2 separate regions of the Homo sapiens genome follow, and region 1 is linked to region 2. Evidence: promoter capture Hi-C in 16 types of primary human blood cells and fetal thymus (Javierre and others, 2016). All regions are on one chromosome and are shown on one strand. The core of a region is centred on a gene start or on the middle of the fragment in contact, and the rest is flanking DNA. Distances in the headings are between cores, read along the strand shown. Region 1 overlaps EDA (ectodysplasin A). Region 2 holds the start of OTUD6A (OTU deubiquitinase 6A).

Evidence for each region. Contacts are between HindIII fragments. The CHiCAGO score rates a contact against its expected background, and 5 or more counts as called.
Region 1: a contact is called between a fragment that was not itself captured here and the fragment with the promoter of OTUD6A in region 2, in 1 of 17 cell types (M2 macrophages). The highest score is 5.0, in M2 macrophages.

Annotation. Positions count from the first base shown.
Region 1 is chrX:69,617,496-69,624,619 of GRCh38, reverse strand. The region is part of intron 1 of EDA (ectodysplasin A); the gene reads right to left. Among named protein-coding and RNA genes, the nearest start is that of EDA, 4.9 kb to the right of the region's middle. The HindIII fragment of the contact is 2,110 bases long and covers 3,547-5,656 here.
Region 2 is chrX:70,060,932-70,067,705 of GRCh38, reverse strand. OTUD6A (OTU deubiquitinase 6A) reads right to left here and starts at 5,249. Exons shown (of 1, transcript NM_207320.3): 1 at 3,527-5,249. The coding sequence starts at 5,181. The coding sequence ends at 4,315. The HindIII fragment of the contact is 21,287 bases long and covers 1-6,774 here.

The sequences.
Region 1 (7,124 bases), core at 3,352-5,851, 440 kb after region 2:
TTTAAATTATCTCAGTCTCATATTGAATTAAGGAGATGTGAGATTGCTAGTGTCTCTAACCACGTGCCAGAAGTGAGTATAAATCCTTTCTAGATAAAGATAAAAATAACTGAGGTCTCAAACCATCTCTACTATAATCTTTCATATATAATGTCTACCATTCAATCAAAACTAACCAGGAGAAAGGTAAAGTGATAGAAAATTAAGACAAACAATAGACAATAGAAACGTACCCTCAAGGATTGAAATAATGAGTAATCAAATGAAGATTTTCAAATAATTATGGCCAGTATGTTAAAAGATATTTTGGCAGAGTTTGGCTGAGAACCAAACACTATCTTATAAAAAGAACCAAATGAAAATTCTAAAAATAAAAAACATGACAAATAATATTAAGAACTCAATGAGTGAGTTTAAAGGGAGTTTAGACAAAGCTGAAGACAGAATTAATGAATTGGAAGTTAAGTCACAGGAAAATATCCAGAATGTAAGATTCTAAAAATATGCATCCATGTGTTCTTCTAGGATGTCTGTGACTTCATGTTTTACATGTAAATCTTTGTTCCATCTGGAATTTATTTTGGTATAAGAGGTGAGATAAGGATCCAGTTTTACTTGTCTTTTTTTTTAAACCCCCAAAATGGCAAGTCAGTAAATCCCAATACTACTTATTGAATTAATCTACCTTTCATGGGAGTCCTTTAAATAGAAACTTCTCCATGCACATTTTAAATGGTCCAGTTGATACAAGTTCTATATATGGTTTATAAAATTCCTATTTAAAACACAGTTCCAGAAATAGCTATATGATTGCAGACAGTTATTTAACCCCTCTGGGTCTGCTTCTCCACATGTAAAAATAGAGACACGGCAATATCTACCTTGCATTGTTCCTGTGAAGATTTTTTGAAAATAAAGTATGTAGATGCAACTGTCTCAAAAAAAAAAAAAGAAAAAAAAGAAAATACCTAGAATGAAGTATAGAGAGAAAAAGAAGGATAGAATACAGAGAAAAGTATGTAACAGACATAAAGGATGCTGAGAAAATGTCTAAAATAGGTTTGCTATGGTCTGAATGTTTGTGTTCCCCCCAAAATTCATATGTTGAAATATCATCACCAATGTGATGGTATTTGATGAGGCTTTTAGGGGGCAATTAAATAATGAGGGCAGAGCCCTTGTAAATGAGATTAATGTCCTTATAAAATAGGTCCAAGGAAGTGCATTTATCCCTTCCACCACGTGAGGATACAGCAAGAGTGTGTCATTCTATGGATCAAGAAGAAGGCACTCACCAAACACCAAATCTGCTGGGCATGTTCATGGATTGGAAAACTGAATACCATAAAATGGTGAGTTCCCTCTAAATTGATTTTTAGATGCAATGCAATCCCAATAAAAATCTCAGCACGTTTCTTTTTTGTGGAACATGACAAGCTGATTCTAAATGCAAAGGGCCAAGAATATCCAAGATACTTTTAAATAAGAGGAACAAGGTGAAAGGAGTTGCTTTACCAGGTAATAATAAAGTCCAGTAATTAAGATTGTGGTAGTGATGTAATGACAAAGAGACCAACAGAATAGAATAAACAGTTCAGAAACAATCTTGCATATATACAGGCACCTGATTTATGACAAAGGTGATGCTATAGAGGACTGGGGGAAAGACAGTCCTTATAATTAATGGTACTGGATCAGTTGGATATCTATATTTTAAAAAATGAAGCTTAGTTTCTGTATCTTAGCATACACAAAAATCGATTTCAAGTGGAGTATAGACCTAAATGTAAATGTCAAAAACATAAAGCTTCTAGAAGATAATATGGGAGAATATCTACAATTTCAAGGTAAGAAAATATTTCTTAAATGGGACACAGAAAACACTATCCATAAAGGAAAATACTAAAAAATTAAACACATTAAAATTAAAAACTTCTGTTCATCAAAGGATACCATAAAGAAAGGTAAATCACAGATTTGGGAATGGCTTACAACATAAAAAATACAAAAATAGTTCATATTCAGAGTATATAAAGAATTCCTACAAATCTATAAGAAAAAGACAGACTAATAGAAAAATGGGCAAAAAACTTGTATAGGCATTTCACAGAAGATATGCAAATGCATAATAAACATGAAAAAGAGCACAACCTCATCAGTCTTCTGAGAAATGCCAATTAAAATCAACGGATATTACTACAAAGCCACCCACCAGAACAGCTATGGCTAAAAAGACTGGCAATACCAAGTGTTAGTAAGAATGTGAAACAGCTGAAATTCTCATACATTGCTGGTGAGCATGTAAATTGATACAATGACTTAGAAAAACTGTCATTATCAATAATGTCAAAAATATGCATCCTCCATGACCCAGCAACTCTGATCTATACAAGCAATAGAAATTCAAGCATATGTAACCAAAAGACATGTATAATAATATTCACAACATCAGCATCCGTAATAGCCCCAGACTGGAAACAATCCACAAATTCATTAAAAATAGAGTAAATAGACTGTGGTATATTCGAGCAACGAAATAATATACAAAAATACAAATAAATGGCTGGGCATGGTGGTTCACATCTGTAATCCCATCACTTTGGTACACTGAGGTGGGAGTATTGCTTCAGGCCAGGAGTTCAAGACCAGTCTGGGCAACATAGAGAGATCCTGTCTCTATAAAAAAATTAAAAATGAGCCTATAAAAAATTAAAAATGAGGCATGGTGGCATGTGCCTGTGGTCCCAGCTACTCAAAAAGCTGAGGTTGGAAGATCGCTTGTTCCTGGGAGGTTATGGCTGCAGTGAGCTGTGATCATGCCACTGCACTCCAACCTGGGTGACAGAGCAAGACTCTGTCTCACACACACAAAAAATACAAATAAAAAACTACAGCCACAAGCAACAACCTGAATGGATGTCACGAAAACAGTATTGAGCAAAAAACACCAGATCCAAAAGAATACACACTGTTTGATTTCATTTATATAAAGTTCAAAATGAACAAAACTAATAAACTAATCCAACTAGCACTATGTCAGGCACTATGGAGAAAGATAAAAAAACTAATCTATGATGTCAGAACTTGAGAGAGTGAGGAGGATATAGTGATAACAATAGGGTGTAAGGAGGAGTTGTGGCATATAATAATGTTCTATTTCTTGACCTGGGTGCTGGTGACGTGAGTATATTCACTTTGTAATGATTCATCAAATTGTACAAATATGATTTATATACTTTTCTGTGTATGAGTTATACTTCAATAGAAAAGATTTTTAATAAAAGAAAGAAATGAAATGAAAAGCTAAGTCCTGAGTATTTACAGAGGAGTTAGATAAAATGGTCCTCTACAGGCAAGGTGGTTTCTCTTGGTAATGTTCTTGGGAATTAAATGGCTTCAGAGGTTCTTTACTTTAAAGAGATCTTCTCTATAAGGTAGTTACAGATAAATTACAGATTATTTTTTCACAAGATCTAAGATAGAAAGAAAGACATGAGACCTAAAAGCAAATAAAACAAAACATCAAACAATATATTACAGGAAGCTTTTTGCACCATTTTAGAGAGAAGGTGTGAAACTGGGAGACTGACCACGTGGTTAAGGCTCTTCTCCATTTCACTTTCTAATTATTCTAGAAATCAGTGAAACATTTCCAGTGGAACTATTTACTCACCTAAGCATAGCTGACAGGTCACAGGCTTAGCAAGACCTGAGGAAAACAGGCCTGTTATAGAAAGAGAAAATGTCTTTGTTTCACATAAACACCTCCAAAGTCCCAAAATAATATTCAACTCAACAAGTATTTGAGTACAGTAACTGTAACTAGCACTGTGTCAGGCATTATGGAGAAAGACAAAAATGAAGGCAGATTTCTAAGGAGCTCTAATGTAAAGACATAAAATGTATTTGAAAACAACAGCAATAACAACTAAAGAATGATTCTAAGACAGGATATGATGGGTGGGTTGCAGCAGAGTTAGTGAGAGAGAAAATGCGATGGGAATAATGAAGCAAGTTGATCAAAAGTTCTGTATTCAAACCCACAGTAAAGGTATTTTATCTAGATCCCACCTCCCTAAAAAAAAAAATCCTTGGATTTATTCATTGTGCTCACCTTGAATCACCTCGAATGATTCCTAGTTATGTTCTTGATCGAAGAGCCTTAACACAGGTAATGTCAACTCTGGATACACTAATGGTCTATCTAGTTATGTCAAGCAATGTTTTGTAGAACTTTAAGGTTGACATCTATGACATCACTTCAAATAATTAGGAACATACTCCAAATAGCCCTAACAGTTCTAAGTAAATCTGTATTGATCTACCCATAATTTTGACTATTACTTGAGACAATGAGTTGAATAAGATACTACCTTTATTTGCCTCCTCTTGAAAATAATTTTTCAAACATTAAAAGGTGTCTAATACTTAACATTGTGTCTGGCACAGCAGGCTTTCTATTTATTGAACTGGATTGTTACGTTACACCAATATATTAATCATATTCATCTCGCTCATGGTTTGGTAGACTTTGATCATATTCCTCCTTCAACCTCTTTCTATCCAGACTGAAAAACCAACTAGAAAATCCCTTCATCCTTTTGATCAATTTAATGGGGTTTTTGAGGACTTTTATCAGCTGTTAGGCTTTTCTTGAGGAGCAGCCACCAGAATTTCCTGTCTGATTGTAGAAGCCAATCTGCTTTTGATCTTGTACATGGAAAAAATAAGTGTTTTGTAAGTGGTTTGTTTTGTTGTTTTTGACACCCTTCCTGATGATACCCACTACATTCTTGGCCTTTGAGGACCACAATCACAACCGGCGCAACATCTCCACAGAATGATCAACAGTGATTTTTAGTTTTTTACTCTGACGATCATATTACTGTATATTGTCCTAATTCAGACACAAATGAGATATCCCTTGCTCTTGAGATAATCTCCACCAACTATCCAGACAAATCTCAGCTACTTGGTTGCTCCAGCTGAAGGAGATGATTGATTACGGAAGGTCTGATGTGACTCTCTCACTTCATCATCAGCAAGTGTGTCCCCACCAGGGAGACTTTTCTAACATTTCACATGGAGAACTGTGCTGATCTCTCTGCTCTGTATCCTACCTGCCCTAACTTCCTTGTGTGCCCTGCTTAAAAAGTTTTTAAATTGACAGATGATATACATACATCTACAGTGATTTCCAGGTCCCTTTCTTGAGTCATAACTGAGAGCCCAGAGCCCATCATCTCATAAGTATGGATAGGTTTACTTTTGCCTACCTGCATGAAGTGTCTCTGACTGTTCTGCCCACTTGGTCTCATGAGAGCTTCCTGCAGTTTACTCTCATCAGCTTGCCTTCACTCCTTACAGATAAACTGGTAAGAAACCTGAATGTACTGCCCGTTGAAGGGTGTATATTTTTATCTTTCTTCCTCTCCATCCAAGATTTGCTGTAACAGCAGTTGTTTGTGTTTAAAAACTAAAATATAAAAATATGACCTACGTGGCCAAATCCCACAAGGCTGTTTACTTCCTTATTTACTGAATCAGAATCTGTCAGCACAATGTAGAATTCTGAGTGTCAGCAGATACTGAAAATTAAATGTCACTGTAAAGCCAGCAGAGGGTGCACCAGGGCACTAGAAATTTTAACCAAGCTTGTAGCAGTATTAATTTAATACCCAATCAACTTTTTTAAAAAGTTATTTTTGTATACTAAAACTAATATACAAGATAAGATAAACTTAAGTTGAACAACTTAAAATAAACAAGTTGAATTTGGGCTAAAATTCCTTCAAAGTATACTCCAAATCTGAAAGTGAAGTTCAGGAAGAATAAGGAACACACGGTTAAACTTACTGTGGTCAAAATACAGGCAGAGTAGAACAAAATGATGCAGAGCTGAGCCCTCTACTTTGCAAAAGTTCTAATGTGGAGCTCCATCTTGCTCCCTCGCAAAAGGTCCCAGGAGGTAGTTGGGGGAATGGGCACCCAACTAGGAGTTAGAGCAACTATCATCCCAGTTTTGACTCTAGTTATGTGACCTTGGGCAAGTCACTTTCCCTTTAGGGCCTATGTTTCCCAAGGGAATCAAACGAAATGGACTCATATAAGCCCTTCATAACTCTAGGAAACTGATTCCAATTGATGTCAACAAATGTAAAGAGCTAGTATCCTTGCTTCTATTGCTCAAAAATATTAAAACAGAAAGAATAAAAGACAGAAGATAGGAAGCTGTGTTTAAATCTAGACAGAACTATTTTAGTGCCACACAAAGGGTAGGTAACTAAATGCCATTATACACCTGTAAGAGTTTCATGCCATCACAGAAACCTTACAGTACAGCTGTTCTGCTAATCCTCAGTCTATAAAAATGGCTCTGTCCATCCTGAATGCCAAAAAGTATTGGCCAACATTTGATTAAAGAAGTTTAATTCTTTCATCTTTTCACAGAATATCAATGTTCAGCTGCTAAATACTTCTGCTGGGCATTGGGGTGTGGGGGGAGTGGCAGTAGATAAATAAAGGAGTCAGAATCCTAGTTAATTATCGTTTAGCTACAATGTTTAAAGTTTCAAGTATGAGAAGCATGTCTGCTGATTCTCTTCTTTGATAAGCTGTTATATAAATTGGAGTGTGCTAGTAAGACATTTTAAGGCTCAGGGCAACTTTACAATGCACATCTTTTTTTTTTTTTTTAAGTATCAGTCCTAACATTACACTATTATCATGAATATGATGTCTCTATCAAGCGTACCACTTTAGATGGGAGGTCAAAGTGGCACAAATAATGTTTACAGAGTTGTGACAATGACTCTGGATGTGGCAGTAAATATAGAAGGCTTGGGTCCCTCACCTCAAGGAACTTATTTGTACAACTTGCTCTCTTCCCTAAGAGGTACAATTTTATTATTATTCTTTAGCCACCTCGAAAGGATCCTTGGATGCTTCTCCTAAGTTTCACATATGGCAACCAAGACAGTATTTACGTTAAGTGAACGAAATTTACTTGAATAAAAAGCTAGAAAGAATAGAATAGAAAACAAACACCAAAGCTAATAGTTTGCTTATTAGGGCACAAACACCATAAAGATTGCAAAAACAAACAAAACTGCTCTTGGGGGACG
Region 2 (6,774 bases), core at 4,000-6,499:
ACCCAACTTTATTTTCCTTGCTTAGCCTATGTCCCCTTGCCCAGGGCCCCTTTCCCCAGCCAGACCCTCTTCCTCAAGCTGTGTCCTCTTTAGATTGGCCCCTTTCTTAGCCATCTGACCAGCCTGTGCGCACCTCTCTGCCCTCTAACCACTTACTGCTGGGTTCCCAGTCTGTGTCTCGGTGGGGCTTCCTCCTCATCCTGTACCCCCAACCAGATGCCCCTCCTTCCTTTCTCTCCCAGGACAGACTCAACCCCAGCCAGAGCCTATTCCCCAACCTCCTTAGCCAGTCTGCCCTTCCCCAGCCCAGGCCTTTTTTCAACTCTATGTCCCCTTCCCACAGCCGGGCACCCATCCCCAGCCTTTCCCCTTTTCAACGGGACCACTTTTCCAAGGAGTTGCCCCTTTGCTGGCCTTTCCCAGCCAGCACCTCCTTCCGCAGTCAGGCATCTTCTCTCAGCTCTCCCTCACCTACCCAGTGGCCTCCCCAGCCATGCAATCTTTCCCACCAGGATCCCTTCACCCACATGTGCCCCGTGCTAAGCCAAGTCTGCTTCCCCGGCTAGGAAAGGGTTCCTAGCCATGCCCCTCCTGCAGCCAAGCTCTCCTCACCCAACGTGCCCTCTGCCCCAGTCTGTGCTCCTTTTTCCAGGCAGGCCTCCTTCCACAGCCTTCGCCTGCCTAGGCCCCTTGTCCAGCCTATTGCCCCTACCCCAGCCAGACCCCATTCCTATCCTGTGTGCCCCTCTACAACTAAGCCCGTTTTCTCAACCACGTGCCCTTCCTCAGCCAAGTTCCTGTCAGGGGGAGAGGCCCTCATTCCCAGGCATGATTTCTTTCCTAGCAAGCTCTCTCCACCTGGTAGGCCCCCTCTCCCAGCCGGGCCCACTAACCTGCCTATGATCCCATCTCTAGCCTATGTCCTTCTCGGTATTCAAACCTTTCCCACCACCAGGTTCCCTTTCCTAGTCTGTGCCTCCCTCCCCAGCCCCTTCCGCTGTCAGAGTCGCTCTCCAGTTAGGCAACCTTTCCCTAAGGGGTCTTTTTACCCCACAATCCTCCCTACCCCACACCCATCTGTCTTCCATAGATTGTGCCAGCCTCTCAAGACTGTGGTCCCTTTACAAGACAGGCACATCCCCATGTCTGGGACCCTTCCTCAGTCTCGCCCTCTCCGCCAATCTATGTCCTTCTCCCCGAGTCTATGTCCTCCTCCCCAGCTTATGCTTACTTTCCTGCTAGATCTCCTTCCCTGGTCCAGTGCCTTCTCCAGCCTGGACTCCACTGGACAGCCCATGTCCCCTCCGCCGGCCAGGCGTTCTTCCCCAGCCTTTCCTCTCATTAACAGCTAGGAACACCTTTCTCATCCTTTGGCTCCTAACTCAACTGGGCCTCCTTCCCTTGACCAGCCAGTTCTTCCCTAACCTGCTCCCCCCACCCCCGCTCACCCTATTATGTCCCTCCCAGCCAGGCTTCCTTCCCCACCCCGTGTCCCAGTCCACAGCCAGGTTCCCTTGCCCAGCCTTGTCCCCTTCCTCTGCCAGTGCCTCCCTAGCCTGTTACCTCTTCCCCAAGATCTTCCTCCTTGCCCTGCCAAGGCCACTCCCATGCTTGGCCCCTTTGGTCACCTAAGCCTGCATCATCAGCCGGGCCACCTTTCCCAGCCAGCATTCCCCCACCCTTGCAGCCAGGTCCCCCCTCCCCCCATCCCAGCCAGGCTTCCTTCTTCAATGACCCCTCCACACCATATGGCACTTCTTCAGCCTGTGTGCCCTCCCCAGTGAGGCTCCCTTCCCTATCCAGGCCCAATTTCCCAATTCCCTTCAATTCCCCTGGCCAGGCAGTTTGCCAGAGCCATTTCCCCATTCAATAGCCAAAGACCCGTTGCTACGAGGCATCTTGTCCCTTTGAGTTGCCCCCTGGTCAGCCTATTCCTCCTTGTATAGACAGTGACTCTTTCTTGACCCAGCCCCCTTTCCTGCCCTTCTCTCCACCCAACTCCACCCCTGCCAGGACCCCTTCCCCAGACTGTAGCCCAGTTCCCAAACAGCTTCCCTTCCCAAGCCAGGCCCCCTTCCTCTCCTTCTCCAGCCTGCCCCAGCTGGGCCACCTTCTCCTACCAGGAACCCTTCACCAGTCCATGCCCCAGCCTCCAGCCTGGACCCTTTGCAGGCATCCTCCCTCAGCCAGGACTTCTTTCCTAGCCTGTGCCCCCGCTACCCAGCTGGGCCTCTTTGTCCATGAAGGTCCCCTACCCTAGCCAGGCCTCTTCTTTTAGCTTGTCACCCCCTTCCCTGACCCTATGCAGCCCACTGAAGTAGAGCACCTTTCCCATTTCTAGAGCCCTTCAGCAGTCTTTGCCCCTGTCCCCAGTCAGCAACCACCACCCCGCCACCCGCAACAGGCCTATGCTCCCTAACCCTCCAGGATTCCTTTGCTTAAGTAGATCCTGGGATATAAACTCTATATGAAGTTAGCTACACAAAAACAGAGAAGCAGGTATTTTTTAAATGGTTTTTATTTTTGAACAAACTACATGTTTAAAAACTTTCAAAAACATATATATTTTATCTTAGAGCATTTGGAATGTAGAAAGAATTTCCAAAATTAATCTCACTGAATTACAGAAAGTAAAGATTAAAATTTTCATAAGTTGTTGACTGTAAATCATTTCATTTTATATTCTTTTGGAAAATTCAAGGATATTAACAAGTCTCAAATAACAAAAGTATATTGTTCACTTTTGATGTAACAAAATAGAATAAAACTTTAATATTTTAAAGAATCTTTTTAGATATTTCTGTATCTCTAAGAAATAAGGAAAGTTGTTACATTCATATCTTTCACACTTCATACCAGATGATATAACAAGGTCAATCAAGTACTTGAATAAATTCATACACCTTTATATCTCTAAGAATAAAGGAAACTTACTCGATTCAGATCTTCACCCCTTAGAGTAAGTAAATTACCTATCAATGTGTCTCTTTTTTCTTTATACCAGTTGTAAAGATAATGAAACGTATCAACTATTTGAATAAAGTCCTATCTCTTCCTACCTTTAGTAAAGGAAATTAAGTTCAGATCTTTCACATCTTAGAGTAAACCTTATCTAGCCTATCAGTTTATCTAAATTTACTTTATCTATTTAACAGATTTACCTTACATGTTTTAACAAATGCTGTTATTTAGAATTAGCAAACATGGGAGAAACTAAAATTAATTAGGAACCACACAAGTTTTGATGAAAAGAAAACAAAACAAAGTACTAGCGGATCTCTTGTTCATAACTTGAGACATCTCCTGAGTAGTCTAGCTTAAGTAAATAGCAAACCATGGCAATCTTTCCCCCCAAAACTCAGCAAAAGGCCTTCACAAGGCATTTTGATCACATAAACTCCAATTTTGTCTAAGTAATCCAAGACATTCATAGGAAAACCTGAAGACTCCCCGAGCTAGTCTACTAGATTTATTTTTCCCAGAACACATGAAACTTAACATTTCCTTTTTTTCTTTTTTTTTTTTTGGAGACGGAGTCTCGCTGTCTTCCATGCTGGAGTGCAGTAGTACGATCCCGGCCCACTGCAGCCTCCGCCTCCCGGGTTCAGTTGATTCTCCTGCCTCAGCACCCCAAGTAGCTAGGATTACAGGCCCCCGCCAACCTGCCTGGCTAATTTTTCATTTTTTTGAGACGGAGTCTCACTGTCTTCCACGCTGGAGTGCAAAGGCACGATCTCGGCTCACTGCAACCTCCGCTTCCCGTCAAGCGATTCTCCTGCCTTAGCCTCCCGAGTATCTGGGACTACAGGTGCCTGCCACCACGCCCGGCTAATTTTTGTATTTTTTGTAGAGGTGGGGTTTCACCATGTTGGCCAGGCTGGTCTCGAACTCCTGACCTCGTGATCCGCCCGCCTCGGCCTCCCAAAGTGCTGGGATTACAGGCGTGAGCCACCGCGCCCGGCCAATATTTCCATTTTTGTGGTGAAGTTATACGCAACATGACCAAATCTTAGTTGGTGAGGGAGGTAAAAGACCCTTAAGGGCAAGAAGAGGTTAGAACTTTCAAATTTATGCCCCTCTGGTGGTGCAATGCAGAGATTTCCCTCATATTTCCGGGGAATTTCCCTCGAATTTCGTTTCCCACCCTGTGAAAGCAGCAAGGTTAGGAAAGCGGGGGCGGGGCGGGGGCGGGTAGTTTTGATTAAAAGGAAGGAAAAGAAAAACAGAGAAAAGCAAAAGGGGAAAATAAACTGAGCCTACTGAGGAGATGCGGCGACGGCGACAGTTTCCCGGGGCTGCTCAGCGCCTTGGGGCCTACAGGAGACGCGGGAGCACGCCCCCGGCGGCGCCGGCCTCGAGCGGTGTCACGGAGTTGTAGTGCTCGCCGAGGCTGTAGGCATAGCGCAGGTAGACCAGGATGATCGGCTTCTTGACGTACTCCTCCCCGATGATCAAGGTGGGCGAGTCGGCCTGGATCACCTCGATGGGGGTCTTCAGGACGTGCGACAGGGCCCTCAGCTCCAGCTGGCCTCCCCATGCCGTGGTGCGCACGATGTTGTCGCAGTAGATCATGAAGTCGTCGTAGCCGAAGGAGTCGCTGGTCTCGGGGTTGCTGAAGAAGGGCAGGAACTCGTCGACGTGCTTCTTCATGTAGCTGGCGGTGCGGCAGCGCAGCATCTCCACAGACACGCTGAACACCAGCTGGTCTTGGATGGCGCGGTACATGCAGTGGCCGTCGGCCGGGATCGCTTTCATCTCCAGACCCCTGGCTCCCAGGATGGCGGCGAGCTTCTCCTCCTCCTCGCGCTTGAAGCCGGCCAGGTGCTCCGACATCTCAGCCTGGAAGATGCTCTCCTGGCGCTCCCTCTCCTCGGACTCCATTCTTTCTCTCTTTCTGTGGGCTTTGGAGGAGCGGGGAGGCCGGTTTTCCAGATTCATCTTGGCCAGGTCTTCGACGACAGATTCAATGCTACTGTCGTCTTGGAACTTCTCCAGCTCCTGCCGGTGCTTCTGAGCCATCTCGGCCTCCATGCGGGCCACGTCTTGGAGCAACTGCTTTCTTTTCGTCTTGTCGGTCTTGGGGACCGAGTTTTTTAAGCTCCGGATCTGGGCCTGCAGCTCCTGCCTCTCGCGTTGGTGGCGGCGCAGTATGCGCTGCTGTTCACTCTTCGGATCATCCATGATGTTGAATGGCAAGCGGGAGTTGAAATTTGCTGGCAGTTCAAGTACCGAACAGACCAGAAGTCCTCAGCCTGTCCTAACGGTCGCTCTCTTTCACCTCACCGGCTCTAACCGCCGCTCTAGGCTCACCTCAGCCTCCGCTTCCCCTCCCCCATTCGCATTCTTCTCTGCCTTTGGTCACTGTGTCTCCATGGCCACGCCCCCGCAAGTGCTAGGCCACTTGCTGGGCCACCCGCAAATGCCCAGTGCTAGGATTGGCTGTTGGGAGACCGGAAGTATGAGCCCATTGGACCCCACAGCAAAGGTTTTTGGCGGGATTCAAATATGGCCTTCCTGCAATGTGTGTGGCAGTTGGGCCTGTAGAGTCTTTCGCTGATTGAGAGCCGACTTCATTTCCAAGTCTGCACACAATGCAGGCAGTAGCCATGCCTGACAGCCACATGACAGATACTACACCGCTGAATGTGCTCTAACCCTGGACTTGGCATTGCCCCTACTGTTGAGGAAGCAGTGCGTTTTTCTCCAGTCTTTCAGGTCCCTTCACCAGGGAACCATTAACTTGTGCATCAGAACAAGGACATTTCCTTACATTCCTGCAAACACAGTCCTTTCAGTTTACTCTTTTTTTGAGGGGGGGGCGCGGGGAACGGAGTCTCGCTCTGTCGCCCAGGCTGGAGTGCAATGGTGCAATCTCAGCTCACTGCAACCTCTGCCTCCCAGGTCCAAGCGATTCTCCTGCCTCAGCCTCCCGGGTAGCCGGGACTACAGGCGCCTGCCACCACGCCCGGCTAATTTTTGTATTTTTAGTAGAGACGAGGTTTCGCCGTGTTGGCCAGGCTGGTCTTGGAACTCCTGACCTCAGGTGATTTACTCGCCTCGGCCTCCCAAAGTGCTGGCATGAGCCACTGTGCCCAGTCACAAGTTTTTATTTTAGCCATTTTGATAAGTGTGAAGTTCCCTGATGGCTAATGATGTTCCTTTTTTCATGTGCTCATTTGTCATCTATGCCATATCCTTTTCAGTAAAATGTTTATGTCATTTGCCTATTTTCTCTCTCTTTTTTTTGGGGGGGGTGGAGTCTAGCTCTGTCACCGAGGGTGGAATGCAGTGGCGTGATCATGGCTCATTGCAGCCTCAAACTCCTGGGCTCAGGCTCAGGTGATCCTCCTGCCTCAACATCCTGAGTAGCTGGGACTACAGGCACCACCATACTTGGCTAATTTTGGGGAATTTTTTTTTTTTTTTTTTTTTTGCCAGATGCGGTGGCTCACGCCTGTAATCCCAGCACTTTGGGAGGCCAAGGTGGGAGGATGTCTTGAGGTCAGGAGTTCCAGACCAGCCTGGGCAACATGGTGAAGCCCTAACTCTACTAGAAATACAAAAATTAGCCAGGTGTGGTGGTGTGTGCCTGTAGTCCCAACTACTCCTGGGGGCTGAGGTGGGAGGATAGCTTGAGCCTGGGAAGCAGAAGTTGTAGTGAGCCAAGATAGCGGCACTGCACTCCAGTCTGGGCTCAAGTGGTCCTCCACCTCTGCCTTCCAAAGTGCTGGGATTACAGATGTGAGACACCATGCTCAGCCCTTCATTTGCCTA